Linked DNA regions of Homo sapiens: region 1 is linked to region 2. The links are contacts of gene promoters, found by promoter capture Hi-C in blood cells and fetal thymus (Javierre and others, 2016). All regions are on one chromosome and are shown on one strand. Each heading gives the region's core, a stretch centred on a gene start or on the middle of the fragment in contact. The rest is flanking DNA. Distances are from core to core; before and after follow the strand shown. Region 1 has its middle 27 kb from the start of MAGEA6-DT. Region 2 holds the start of FATE1 (fetal and adult testis expressed 1).

Region 1 (5,986 bases), core at 2,788-5,287, 1.1 Mb after region 2:
TGTAATAGAGGTACTAGCCAGTGCAGTAATGCTAAGCAGATGAAATCAAAGGGCTAGAGATAAAAAATAAACAAAATTTGCCTAATTAACAGATGGTTTTTAGATTGTGTATAAAGAAAATTCAAAATAAGAGTAAATTATTCATTTAATAAAATATATATAAAAGTTGCAGGACAAATATCAATTTACAAAAAAATTAAGTTTCTGCAGTAACAGTATGAAAATGAGAATAAACAAAATATACCTTGTAAAATGAATCTAACCAAAGAAAGCCTAAGAACTTCATGGAAATTAAATTAATGAACTAATTAAGGCTTTAAATATAAAATAAATGGATGTGAGTATTCAATATTGTAGACATGTTAATTATTTCCAGAAGTAATGTACAGATGATTGCAATCCCAATTTAAAAATTAAAGTCTTTATGTGTGAATGTGTGTGCTTACATACATGTGTGTGTAAAATATTGCAAGATGACTCTGAAATTTAAATTGACATGTGATATAGTTTCTATATGTGTCCCCACCCAAATCTCATTTTGAATTGTAATCTCCATTGTTGGAGGTGGGGCCTGGTGGGAAGTGATTGGATCATGGGGCTGGATTTCTCATGAATGGTTTAGCGCCACCCCCTTGGTGCTGTTATCGTGATAGTGAGTGAGTTCTCGTGAGATCTGGTTGTTTAAAAGTGTGTGGCATCTCCCCTGCCTCTCTCTTATTCCTGCTCTGGCCATGTGACGTACCTGCTTCCGCTTCACCTTCTGCCATGATTGTTTCATGAGGCCTCCCCAGAAGCTGAGCAGATGCCAGCATCATGTTTCCTGTACAGCCTGCAGAACCGTGAGCCAATTAAGCTTCTTTTCTTTATAAATTATCCAGTCTCAAATATTTCTTTATAGCAATGTGAGAACAGATTAACACAACATGCAATAGGCTAAGCATGGCCAAGACATTCTTGAGATAAAAGAAGATAAAAGGAGTTCCTCCACCAGATAGTAAGAATGACTAGAAAGCTCTAGTGATAAAGAATTTGTAGTATGGGTACAAGGTGTAACAAATAGAACAATGGAGCTGAATAGAGATTCCTGAAACACACCCACTTAATACATGGACTTTTGATTTATATATTTAAAAAGAGCAGGAGAGATAGGGCAATAATAAAACTATAACTTTTAATAAATGACAGTGAAACAACTAAATATCCATGTAGAAAACAAAATGTAACAAGAACCCTCCTTGGAATTACACACAAAAATTAATTCCAGGAGGATTAAAGAACTACTTTTTAAAGGTTTCCTGTAACTTTTTTCAAATATACATAAAATACATGGAATGGTAAAAATGAGCCTTCATATGTTTCTATCATCTAGAGAGCAAGCAGTATGGGTCAAGGAGAGCATCGATAATGCTGGAGGGGAAAGGACTGAAAGAGGCTAGGGACATTGGTCAGTACCAGAAGGGTTGGAGATGATACAAGTCAAGGAGGAAGGGGGAAATGGCAGCTCCTTCTGCCCCTTGTCTCCAACACAGATGACCTTCCCACCCTCAGGGGTCTTCGTTTTCAAAGAGCTAGACCTGGTGGCTAGACAGGAGGAGGCTTAGGAGAAGGCTGCCTGGACCAGTGATTTGTTCATTCCATCTCTCACCACAGCCCCTGCTGATCTCTAGAGCCCTGGAGCTCAGAGAAGTGTGACCTGACAGTATGATTCCTGAGACTTCTGACAAGGCTTGTTGGGCTAACACCCTGACCAGGCCCAGGAGGTCTCTATCAACTTAGAGGCAGTGCCAGGTTGTCCACATGTGATGGGAGTAAAGTGCTACCTCCTCCTCATCTGGGTGAGAGCCATTGGTGGGAAGAGGGGTTTTGGGGCCTTGGCTTCTCTCCTTTTTTGCTCATTGCAAGGTGTCCTCCAGATCCTGTTCCTTGACAGAAAACCCTCGCTGTAGACCCCCACTAGTGGGACTTGGAGTACTTAATGGAGCAAGGAAGGGGGTCTCCCTCCTTCCTGAGATCAGAGGTACTCTAAGTGTGGAGAAGACAGGTATCATGGGATGAGCCTGAACTAATTACATAGTGGCCAGAGGGCCTCCAGGAATGAAGGGCTTTCCCCATCAGCACATGAACTACCACCGGTATGGGCAGGATTTTCCTAACAGTGTTTTTTAGAGAGTAGTTATTAATTTTAATAATGTCTAAGTTATCCATTTTTTCTTTCATGAGTCATGCTTTTGGTGTTGTGTCTAAGAAGTCACAGCTAAACCCAAGTTCACCTTGATTTTCTTCCATGGATGGGGAGCCACCAGTGATGCTGGTTGGAGGGCCTTTCCTCCAGCATGTGAACTACCACTAGTCTGGGGAGTTGGGTCATGGAAGAATCTTAATGAAGACTCTCCACCATCAAAATGGGATTTGGAGCTTCTGGTTGGAAATGCTTCAGGCTGACAAACAGCCTCTGAATGAGAATAGGGTCACCCAAAATGAGCCCCAGGGTGATGGACTAAGAGGGCCTTATAGGAGGAAGGGCGCCATCTTGATCATCTCATCTACCCATGATTAACACCCACCCAGATCAATGCCTGCCCCACCTCTGCTCCATGTACTTTCTTTTAGCTGCCCTCGCTCTTGACAGGGCCCTCAGCAGTATTCGGGAACCCTGAGATTCTAAAAGAGGTTGATTTGTGTTTTTGTGAACGAGTTCACTGAAGGTATGAGTCATCTCCAGATTTACTGTGCCCAGGCCCAACTCAACTGTTGCGGAGTTTGCTTTCTTCCTCAGCTTTGGCTTCAGCGTCTCAGGTGCCGTTAGCCTATCTTGTAGCCAGAATGGGGTATATAACCTCAGAGGTGAAGGTGGAAAATCTTGGGCATTTCTTTTACAATGATTTATCTTTGCCTCCCAGTGTCAGATCCACAAGGCCAACTTTTCTCAGATCTTCACTGCGAGAATATGGTGGGGTTCCTGGAGATAAAGCCTGTAATGTTTGCCCCTTAAGACTGCAGCCCCAGGTAGTTTATCACTTACATTACCCCACACTCAGCTTTCAGAAAGTCATCAAAATCACCATTTAGATGTTCTTACCAGTTTATGGCTCCAGCAGCTTCTGCTACAGGTAAGCAGATCTTACCTGCTCCTCTTTGTGTGAACCAGTCGCTCCACATTTTCAGTCAGTGGTTTGCCCTGCAATCTCAGTTCTCTGATGGGTGTAAGAAAAAGTTTTCAGTTTGTCAAGCATTTTCTTGTAAGAATGGGAGTGCCAACTTACAACTGTATATCCTTTTTACTGGTTGCTTTAGTTATTATATATACCTAGCTTATCTCACTCTACTGTTGTCAACATTTTACCAGTTCAAGTAAAGTGTAGAAACCTCACCTTCCTTCATATCCCTTTACCCTTCTCCATTTATGATGTGATTGTCTTAAGTATTTCTTATACATACATTTAAAGACATATTAGGCCATTCTATAATTTTTGCCTCGACTGTCAAACATAACTTAGAAAACTCAAAGAAGAAAGAAAGTCTATTGTATTTATCTACATTTTGTTTACCATGTTCTTTCTTCCTTCCCAATGTTCCAATTCCCCATTACCCTTTTTATCATTTCCTTTCTGTTTAGGGAACTTCCTCTAGCCATTCTTCTAGGGTAAATCTCCTGGTGACAAAGTCTATTAGTTTTCCTTAATTTGGGAATATCTTGATTTTCCCTTCATTCCTGAAAGATATTTTTGCTATATGTAGGGTTGTGTTGACTGTTCTTTTCTTTCAGCTCTTGAGAGATGTTGTGCTTCTTTCTTCTGGGCTTCATGGTTTCTGTTGCAAACCTCACTGTCATTTGAATTATTTTCCCTCTAAACTGAGATGTCATTTCTCTCTCGCTGCTTTCAAGATTTTTTTTTGTCTCTAATTTTCAGAAGTTTGACTATGACGTATCTTGACTTGGATTTATTCTCCTTGGATTCATTCAGCTTCTCGAATTTATAGGTTTATGAGTGTTGCTAAACTTGGAAAGCATTAAGCCATTATTTCTTTGAGTACCTCTTCAGCCCTATTCTCTTTCTCTTTTCTTTCTGGTATTCTAGTGACATGAATGTTCAATCTTTCGTTATGGTCCCTCAGGTCTCTGAGGCTCTGCTCATTTTTATATTGATGTATTTTTTCCCTGTTGTTCAGACTGAGAAATTTCTATTGTTCTATCTTTCAGTTCACTGATTGTTTCCTCCGTCATCTCCATTCTGCTTTTTAGCCCATCCATTAAGTTTTTCATTTCAGTTATTGCTTTTTTCAGTTCTAAAAACATCAATTGATTTTTCTTTATATGTGCTACTTCTTTGCTGAGATATTCTATTTTTTCCAATTGTTTCAGATGTGTTTATAATTGCATTTTGAAGCATTTTTATAATGGCTGATTTAAAATCTTTGTCAGATAATTCTCAATGTCCATCATCTTGGTGTTGATGTGTACTGACTGAGTTTTTATTCAGTTCAAGATCTTCCTGTTTCTGTTATGTGAATGGTTTTTGATTGAGCTATTGATATTTTGGTTGTTATGTCATATTATTCTGGATCTTATTTAAACCTTGTGTTTTAGCTGGCTTTCTCAGACATCACTCTAGCAAAAGAGATAGGGCACCACTTCATTACTGACATATGGAAATGGAAGATCAAGTTCCTCACTTGGCCTCCATTGACACCCAAGTGGGAGCCCACTCAATACTGCTGGGTTTAGGTGGGAGTTCTGGCCCCATACTAGGGCTCTACTGATACCTCCTTGTTTGGGAGGGGTGAGTGTTTCTCATTACTCTTCCCCATGTGGCCTCTGCTGACACCACAGGTTGTAGGGATGGTCTCATTGTTCCTGGACAGTGGTGAAAGTCCTCACTTTTTATGAGACCTCCTCTGATGACACCCCAGTCAGGAGAGGAAAGGGCGACTTTTATCTTTGAGTGGAAGTGCAAGTTCCCCACATGAGCTATATAAACAACATGCTGTGGGGAGGGAAATGCTTCATTACTACATGCTGGGAATAAAAGCTCAAGCTCTCTACTCAGTCACCTCTGACACCACTCCAGTGCTGGTGAGGGGGTACTTGGAGCCCTTGATATAGCCTAGTGAGGGTGGCAATCCAGGCTCCCCTCTTAGCCTTTGCTGGTGTGGATGTGAGTGGGGCCATAGATTTTTTGTATGTGTTGATATTTGGTGAGAGTAGAGCAGCTAGTGTCTAAAAGTTTTCTGTTTTGCTAGGTTACCCTTTTCCTGATTTTTTGGTTAGAGAGAGAAGGCTTTTGTTGAGGCTTCTCCCCTCAACTCCCTGTACCTGTTGGCTTATTTAGCTCCATTTCTGGGATATATAAGGCATAAAGAAAACACAGGGAACCTCAGCACTTTGGGAGGCCGAAGTGGGCAGATCACGAGGTCAGGAGTTTGAGACCAGCCTGGCCAACATGGTGAAACCCCGTCTCTACTAAAAATACAAAAATTAGCTGGGCGTGGTGGCGTGCGCCTGTAATCCCAGCTACTCGGGAGGCTGAGGCAGAAGAATTGCTCGAACCCTGGAGGGGGAGGTTGCAGTCAGCCAAGATCATGCCACTGCACTCCAACCTGGGTGACAGAGCGAGACTCCGTCTCAAAAAAAAAAAGAAAGAAAGAAAGAAAGAAAAGAAAACACAGGGAACTCACCGCTATGCTATGTTGTTCCTTGGATTCCAAGGTCCCTAGCCAGTCTCCTCTTTTCTCTACCATTCAGACCCATCTTACTGCTTGTTTTGTGTATAACATTCTGGGCATTTAGTTGTGCTTAGCAGGAGAAATAGGAGAGTACTCCATCTTCCCAGAAGTGGAAGTTGAATCCCTACAGATAATTTTAAAACAATAAAATTAATAAAAGCCAATCTTGATTTTTACCACCATACTCCAGTATGTCTATATAATTTCTGTGATAAAATGCTCTTCCCCCAATCTTTTATCCTTATTTTTTCAAAAGTTATTT
Region 2 (6,036 bases), core at 2,622-5,121:
TCCTTCAAGACATTTGGCTTCAACGACCTCTTACATAAAGCCCCAATATAAGAAAGTGGTAAGAGCTGAGCTGCTCTGGATGAAGAACAGTAGAGTCTGCCTTGAAGCCCAGGCAGCCCCCACACACCTCCCTGAAACTTCCACGTGAACATGGGAAACTGAGGCTCCAAGCAGGTGAAGCAACCTGCCTAAGATGTCCCAGTGGCAGGGTTCTGAGTCACTCACAGATGTGCTGATTTTGGGCTAGGTTCCTGCCATCTCCTGCTGCAGCTTGCAAGGGAGGTGGGAGCTGGGGGCAGACAGAGCTGCGACCCTGAGCCGCTGGGAAATGGAGCAGAGTGCTCAGCTGACTGAACAGCTGGAAGAAGCTAGTGGTTGGAAGGCACTGTTGGAGGCAGATGATCAGGCTGGCTGGGGGCAGGCAGAGAAGACAGACAGACACAAGGGCAGATGGACAGGTAGGCAGGCAGCAGCCTGAGTTGGACACCTGCTCCGTGGGTGGCTGGATGCCCTCTAGGTTTCAGCAAAAGCTTGGATGCAATTAACTTTATTTGTTTGGTCCCCAGTGGAGGCTCTGTGCTCACGATCCCCCTTAGGGAAAAAGATGATACATTTCCTTTGGAGATACTTAGCTTGAAAGGAGGGAGAGTTTTTGTCTTATTCTTTTCTGTTAATAAAATAGCTCTTATTTTAATAAAGATCCAAACCCTCCAGCAGACAGTTCATGGGAAAGAAATACAGAAGATCAATAAACATATGAAAAATTGCTCAGGATTATTCATAATTAAAGTAATATAAATTAAAGCAACAATGAGATGGATATCATTTTTCACCCATTAAGCCTTTTAAATAGTTGCATAATATTCCTGTTGATCAGACTGGGAAGAAACACGGACTTTCTTCTAGGTGAGGCTTCACTTTGTGCAGGCTCTTTGGAGGCTCCTTTGACAATATTGGTCCATATAGGTCAAAATCATCAACACACATACCCTAGAACCCCACAATTCCACTTATAGGCACCTGCTGTGCAAACCCATTTACCTATGTGTGCAGAGAGACATGTTCAGGAATGCTCAGTGCTACATTGTTTCTAAAAATATAAAAGCTCTAGACACCCAAAATATCCATGAGCAAGTCAATAAAGGAGCAAGGGGAGGCAGCTGTGTAGGGAAATGCTATGCTGGGCTGAGAAGAAATGAGGTAGATTTGTTTTCACACGGAGAGATTCCCCAAAGCACATGGTTCACTTGAAAAAATAAGTTGCAGAATATGGCACACACCTCAGATGTAGGTGATCTCAATTGTGCAAAACACTGAACACTGAAAACATATAGACACACATACAAGCCAGGTATGTTCTGGACCCTTCTTTCCCCTATGAAGAAGCATCTGTTGAACCTTTGGGTGAGCAGAACCTTCCACTGGAGTGTTAGGGCTCTGCAGCCTGTTATGTACACTTGGCCATGTGCCATCTTCCTGGACCCAGGCACCGTGTGAGACTTGAAAGGTCTCTCTCTGTATCCCAGGTGCTCTAGTCCTTCGAGGCCCTGAGGTTAGCACACAGACTTTGGGGTAGGGGGCTTTTCAGAATGGTTGGAGTACGAATTTAGGGCCATTTCAAAAGGAGATTACCATGCAGATGATAATTATGAAATTATAATTAGCTAGCATGCTAAGAGACAAGTTCAAAGGCACATAGCAAACTCTCGTCACCTCCAAGTTGTCCTTGGCACTCAATCCAAGAAAGGAAGGCATGCTAAGGGGGTGAGATGCTGGGGTTTTTGAGTGGCATTGGGGGTTCAGGGATTGGGAAGGAATTCTCCCACCCTCTTTGCTTGGCTTTAGGTGGTGGATTCCTATGCCACCAGGGGGCAGTGCCTCCACATGCACCTGGACCCTGTGCTCCTGTGCCCAAGAAGCCCCACCAGGGCCAGTTGATAGCGAGACAGAAATCTGGCCTCCATAGCCCGAGGCCCTGTGGCAAGCCAGTGCCCACACTGCTCTAGCTTTGCTGACTTCTGAGTGCTCCTCACAATCCAGCCACCCTGTAGGGAGGCTTGTCCATGGGGGAGACTGACACCAAAAGAAGCGAGAAACTTGCCCAAGGTAAAATCTTGAAGTCATAGTGAGATAAGATTGTCAGATGGAATACAGGATATGCAGCTAAATTTCAATGTCAAATCAATCCATGAATCATTCTTTAGTGTAAATATGTCCCAAAAGTTAGTGTACGAGAGAATACTTATACTGTTGTTTATCTGAAATTTAAATGTACTTCGTACCTATATTTTCATTTGCTCAATCTGGCTGGGCTTCCCAGGCTCCTGAATCCCACTGAGCTGAGCACACTCAGCAGTTTCTCTGCTCCCAAGGTGGCCCTCCAGAAAGCTCGAATTTCATCACAGCTGCTCCACTGGATCTGGGAAGGGCTTCTTTGGGGCCCCCAGGAATGCAGGCAGGGCCTATATCAGCTCTGGTTCCCAAGCTGGACAGGTGAGGTGGGGGCAGGGGGCAGGCAGCCTCAGACCATGCCGCCCTATCTCAGCTACTCCTGGCCCCTTCGTTTCCACTTTCTCTCCCTTCCTTCCTTCCTTCCTTCCTTCCTTCCTTCCTTCCTTCCTTCCTTCCTCCCTTCCTTCTTCTTTTCCTCCTTCCTTCCTCCTCTTCCTCCCACCTGGCCCAGGGGCTCTGGGGGAAGAAGAGGCTATTTGTAAAAGGAACCTTATATAAACCTGTCCTGATTCCTTTTACAAATAGCCTCCTATTCCCCCAGGGGCTCTGGGGTTGTTTCCTAGAATGAAGGGTTCACCACAGGTAGTTGTAGCAATCAGGGTTTTCCAGAGAAACAGAACTGATAGGATGTATATATGTATGTATGTATGTATGTATGTATGTATGTATGTATGCATGTATGTATGTATATATCTGCATATGCACAAGTATATAGAAATTTATTTTAAGAAATTGGCTTATGCGATTGTGGGGCTGACAAGTCTGAAATGTGCAAGGCAGCCCTGCAGGCTGGCAACTCAAGGAAGAGTTGACATTGCAGTCCTGGGGTAGAATTACCTCTACTTTGGGAAACCTCAGTCTTTGCTCTTCAGGCCTCTCAGCTGATTGTGTGAGGCCCACTCACATCATCGAGGATGGGTCTCTACTTTATTTCAAGTCCACTGGTTGTAGATGCCAACCACAGCTACAAAATGCCTCCACAGCAACACCTAGACTAGGGTTTGATGGAGTCACTGGGGACTAGAACCTGGCCAGGTGACACATAAACCTGACCATCACAGTGGTCTAATCAGTAGGGAAGCTGAGGGAGAACTGGGACTTAGAAGGTGCAGGGCCTGAGGCCCCTGGGGGTTCTAGTGGCTGCAGTCAGGTCCCACCTCTCTTGCCCTTCTCTCCCTTTGTTATGGCTCCTGCCTAGGCTGACCTACTTCAGGAAAAGGCTACCTCCCGTGTCTGGGGACTCTGGATGGGGGAGGTAGGATACGCTCTCCAGAGAATCCCTTCTGAAGGTGTGGTATGGCCTGGATTGCTAGCACCTAACTCTGTTGTGGCCACTGTTGGCTCTCGGACCCTGTGCCAATCCCTGTTTCTTCATAGAAATGATGGAGGGTGGACCCCACCCTTCTCCCCATGGGCTAAATATGGAGATTCATGAGCCAGAGCAGTTCTCACAGGCAAAGGCACGGAATTGTATCTCTTCTCCTAAGTTGCTTACAGAGTAGCAGAGGAGAAGGCCACTGACCTAGCCAGCAAGATACAATAGAAACAGAAAGTACTGTGTCCAAGGCCTCAGCCTAGAGAGGGAGTCTCACTCCACCCCCAGATCTGACTATATCTTCCTTGAGCTCCTGTTTCCGGAAGAGGTGATTTTCTGAGTGTGACTCCTCTGTTCCTGGCACCCTGTGCATCCTTAGCCATAGCTTACAAGAGAACAGCTGGTTGTGATGGCAGGAGGCCCTCCCAACACCAAGGCGGAGATGGAAATGTCCCTGGCAGAAGAACTGAATCATGGACGCCAAGGGGAAAACCAAGAGCACCTGGTGATAGCAGGTGAGGATCCCCTAAAATACCCCTAGGCTACAGCCAACTGTGTAGATACGTGTCTATACCTGTGCATGTGTGTGTTGGAAAAGGTGCATGTGTGCACGGAAGTGTTTGCACATCTGTGTGTTGGCCGGGCTTCGAGGATTTGTGGGTTGATGTAAGGGAGCTAGGGGAAAAGGGATAGATGATGTGAGCATTTTTCCCTGGGAGGGAGGAGGATGGGAACAACATGTGTAGTACCTCTGTCTCCCCCTTATCCAAGCCACCACAGTCTCTGTTGCAAAATACTCAGAGGGCTCAAATTATGAGACCAGAGATCAATTCTCTCTCCCAATCCTCCAATTCATTTTCCTGCCATTTGGAGGAAAATCCAAATTCCATGATCTATAAGATTGTATCAGCCTCCTCAAAACGTTTCATGCTATGATATAGACAGAAAATACCATTTCTATAGCACACAAAGGGATCCAGATCACATTGCATTTATGTTTGTTCTTACGATGCTCCAAGCCTGCTTCTTCCCCCAAAGACCTTGCATTTGCTGTTTCCTCTGCCTGGAATGCTCTTTCCCTCAATTTCCCAGGGCTGGGTCCTTTTTTTCCTTCAGGTCCCCACCTCAATTGCTGTCTCCTACTTTTCTAGGAGGAGCCCTTTCCTTCCACTATGTTACCCTGTTTTGATCATTTATGGAGCCTGCATCTCTCTGTCTGCATTTGCAAGGATAGATTGCTTTCTGTTTTACACCTGTCATTCCCCCTTATACACAAACAGATGGTCAGTTCCTTGATAGCTGGAATCTTGTTCTTGGTCATTGGTCTCTAGGTTACTGGAGAGTAACCTAGTCTCGAGCTCAGCCCTCAGGAAATTCCGGTTTAACTTTTGAACAGATGAACAAACTGAGACCTGGGATCAGCTGATGGACAGTGGTTAATGGGTGCTGAGTGATTCCCAAGAAAGCTGGAGACTCTGTCTTCTTTTTGGTGTGTTTTGTGCCCAAGAAACCCTGGTGCAACTTCTATGGGTGCTCCTGGAGCTTCTGTTCTTCTCTCTAGAAATGATGGAGCTTGGATCTCGGTCCCGGGGTGCCTCCCAGAAGAAGCAGAAGTTGGAACAAAAAGCTGCTGGCTCTGCTTCAGCCAAACGAGTTTGGAATATGACTGCCACCCGACCCAAGAAAATGGTACTGTATGGGGTCCTCAGCACTTGGTGGCCAGGTTGGGGTTGGGAGTACTGGTTGTAGGGGCTCTAGCCTGACCAGGTCAGGCAGGGCTAGACGTTGACTTGTGAGGAGGAGGAAGCTCCTGTGCTCCAAGCTGGCAAATGAGGACAGGAAGTTCCAATTAAAGGTCAGGGTCATCCTTTCCTATGCTGGGGGTTCAACCTTGGGAATTCAGAATGCCTGAAACAAATATTGCATGGGGAGTACATAAATACTTTACTCTATAAATCTATTGTGTGAAATAACGCTTTCCTGTATTTAAAATTATGTGTGTGGTACGTGTGTGTGTGTGTGTGCGCGTGTATACACACAATAAGTCAGGTGAGGCTCCTATGCTTTCTGGCTGTTAAGAAATCCAGTCAAGTGGACTGGCATGGTGGCTCATGCCTGTAATCTCAGCACTCTGAGAGGAGGAGGCGGACGGATCACTTGAGGCCAGGAGTTCGAGAACAGTCTGGCCAGCATGGTAAAACCCCGTCTCTACTAAAAATACAAAAATTAGCTGGGCATGGTGGCACATGCCTGTAATCCCAGCTACTCAGGAGGCTGAGGCATGAGAATTGCTTGAACCTAGCAGGCAGAGGTTGCAGTGAGCTGAGATCATGCCACTGCACTCCAGCCTGGGCAACAGAGTGAGACTCTGTCAAGAAAGAAAGAAAGAAAGAGAGAGAGAGGAAGGAAGGAAGGAAGGAAGGAAGGAAGGAAGGAAGGAAGGAAGGAAGGAAGGAAGGAAGGGGAAAAGAAAGGAAAAGGAAAGAAAG

What was found. Contacts are between HindIII fragments. The CHiCAGO score rates a contact against its expected background, and 5 or more counts as called.
Region 1: a contact is called between a fragment that was not itself captured here and the fragment with the promoter of FATE1 in region 2, in 2 of 17 cell types (M2 macrophages and M1 macrophages). The highest score is 8.4, in M2 macrophages.

Annotation. Positions count from the first base shown.
Region 1 is chrX:152,794,224-152,800,209 of GRCh38, forward strand. No RefSeq gene overlaps it. Among named protein-coding and RNA genes, the nearest start is that of MAGEA6-DT, 27 kb to the left of the region's middle. The HindIII fragment of the contact is 6,373 bases long and covers 852-5,986 here.
Region 2 is chrX:151,712,164-151,718,199 of GRCh38, forward strand. It overlaps FATE1 (fetal and adult testis expressed 1), which reads left to right and starts at 3,872. Exons shown (of 5, transcript NM_033085.3): 1 at 3,872-4,062; 2 at 5,109-5,236. The coding sequence starts at 3,957. The HindIII fragment of the contact is 6,237 bases long and covers 529-6,036 here.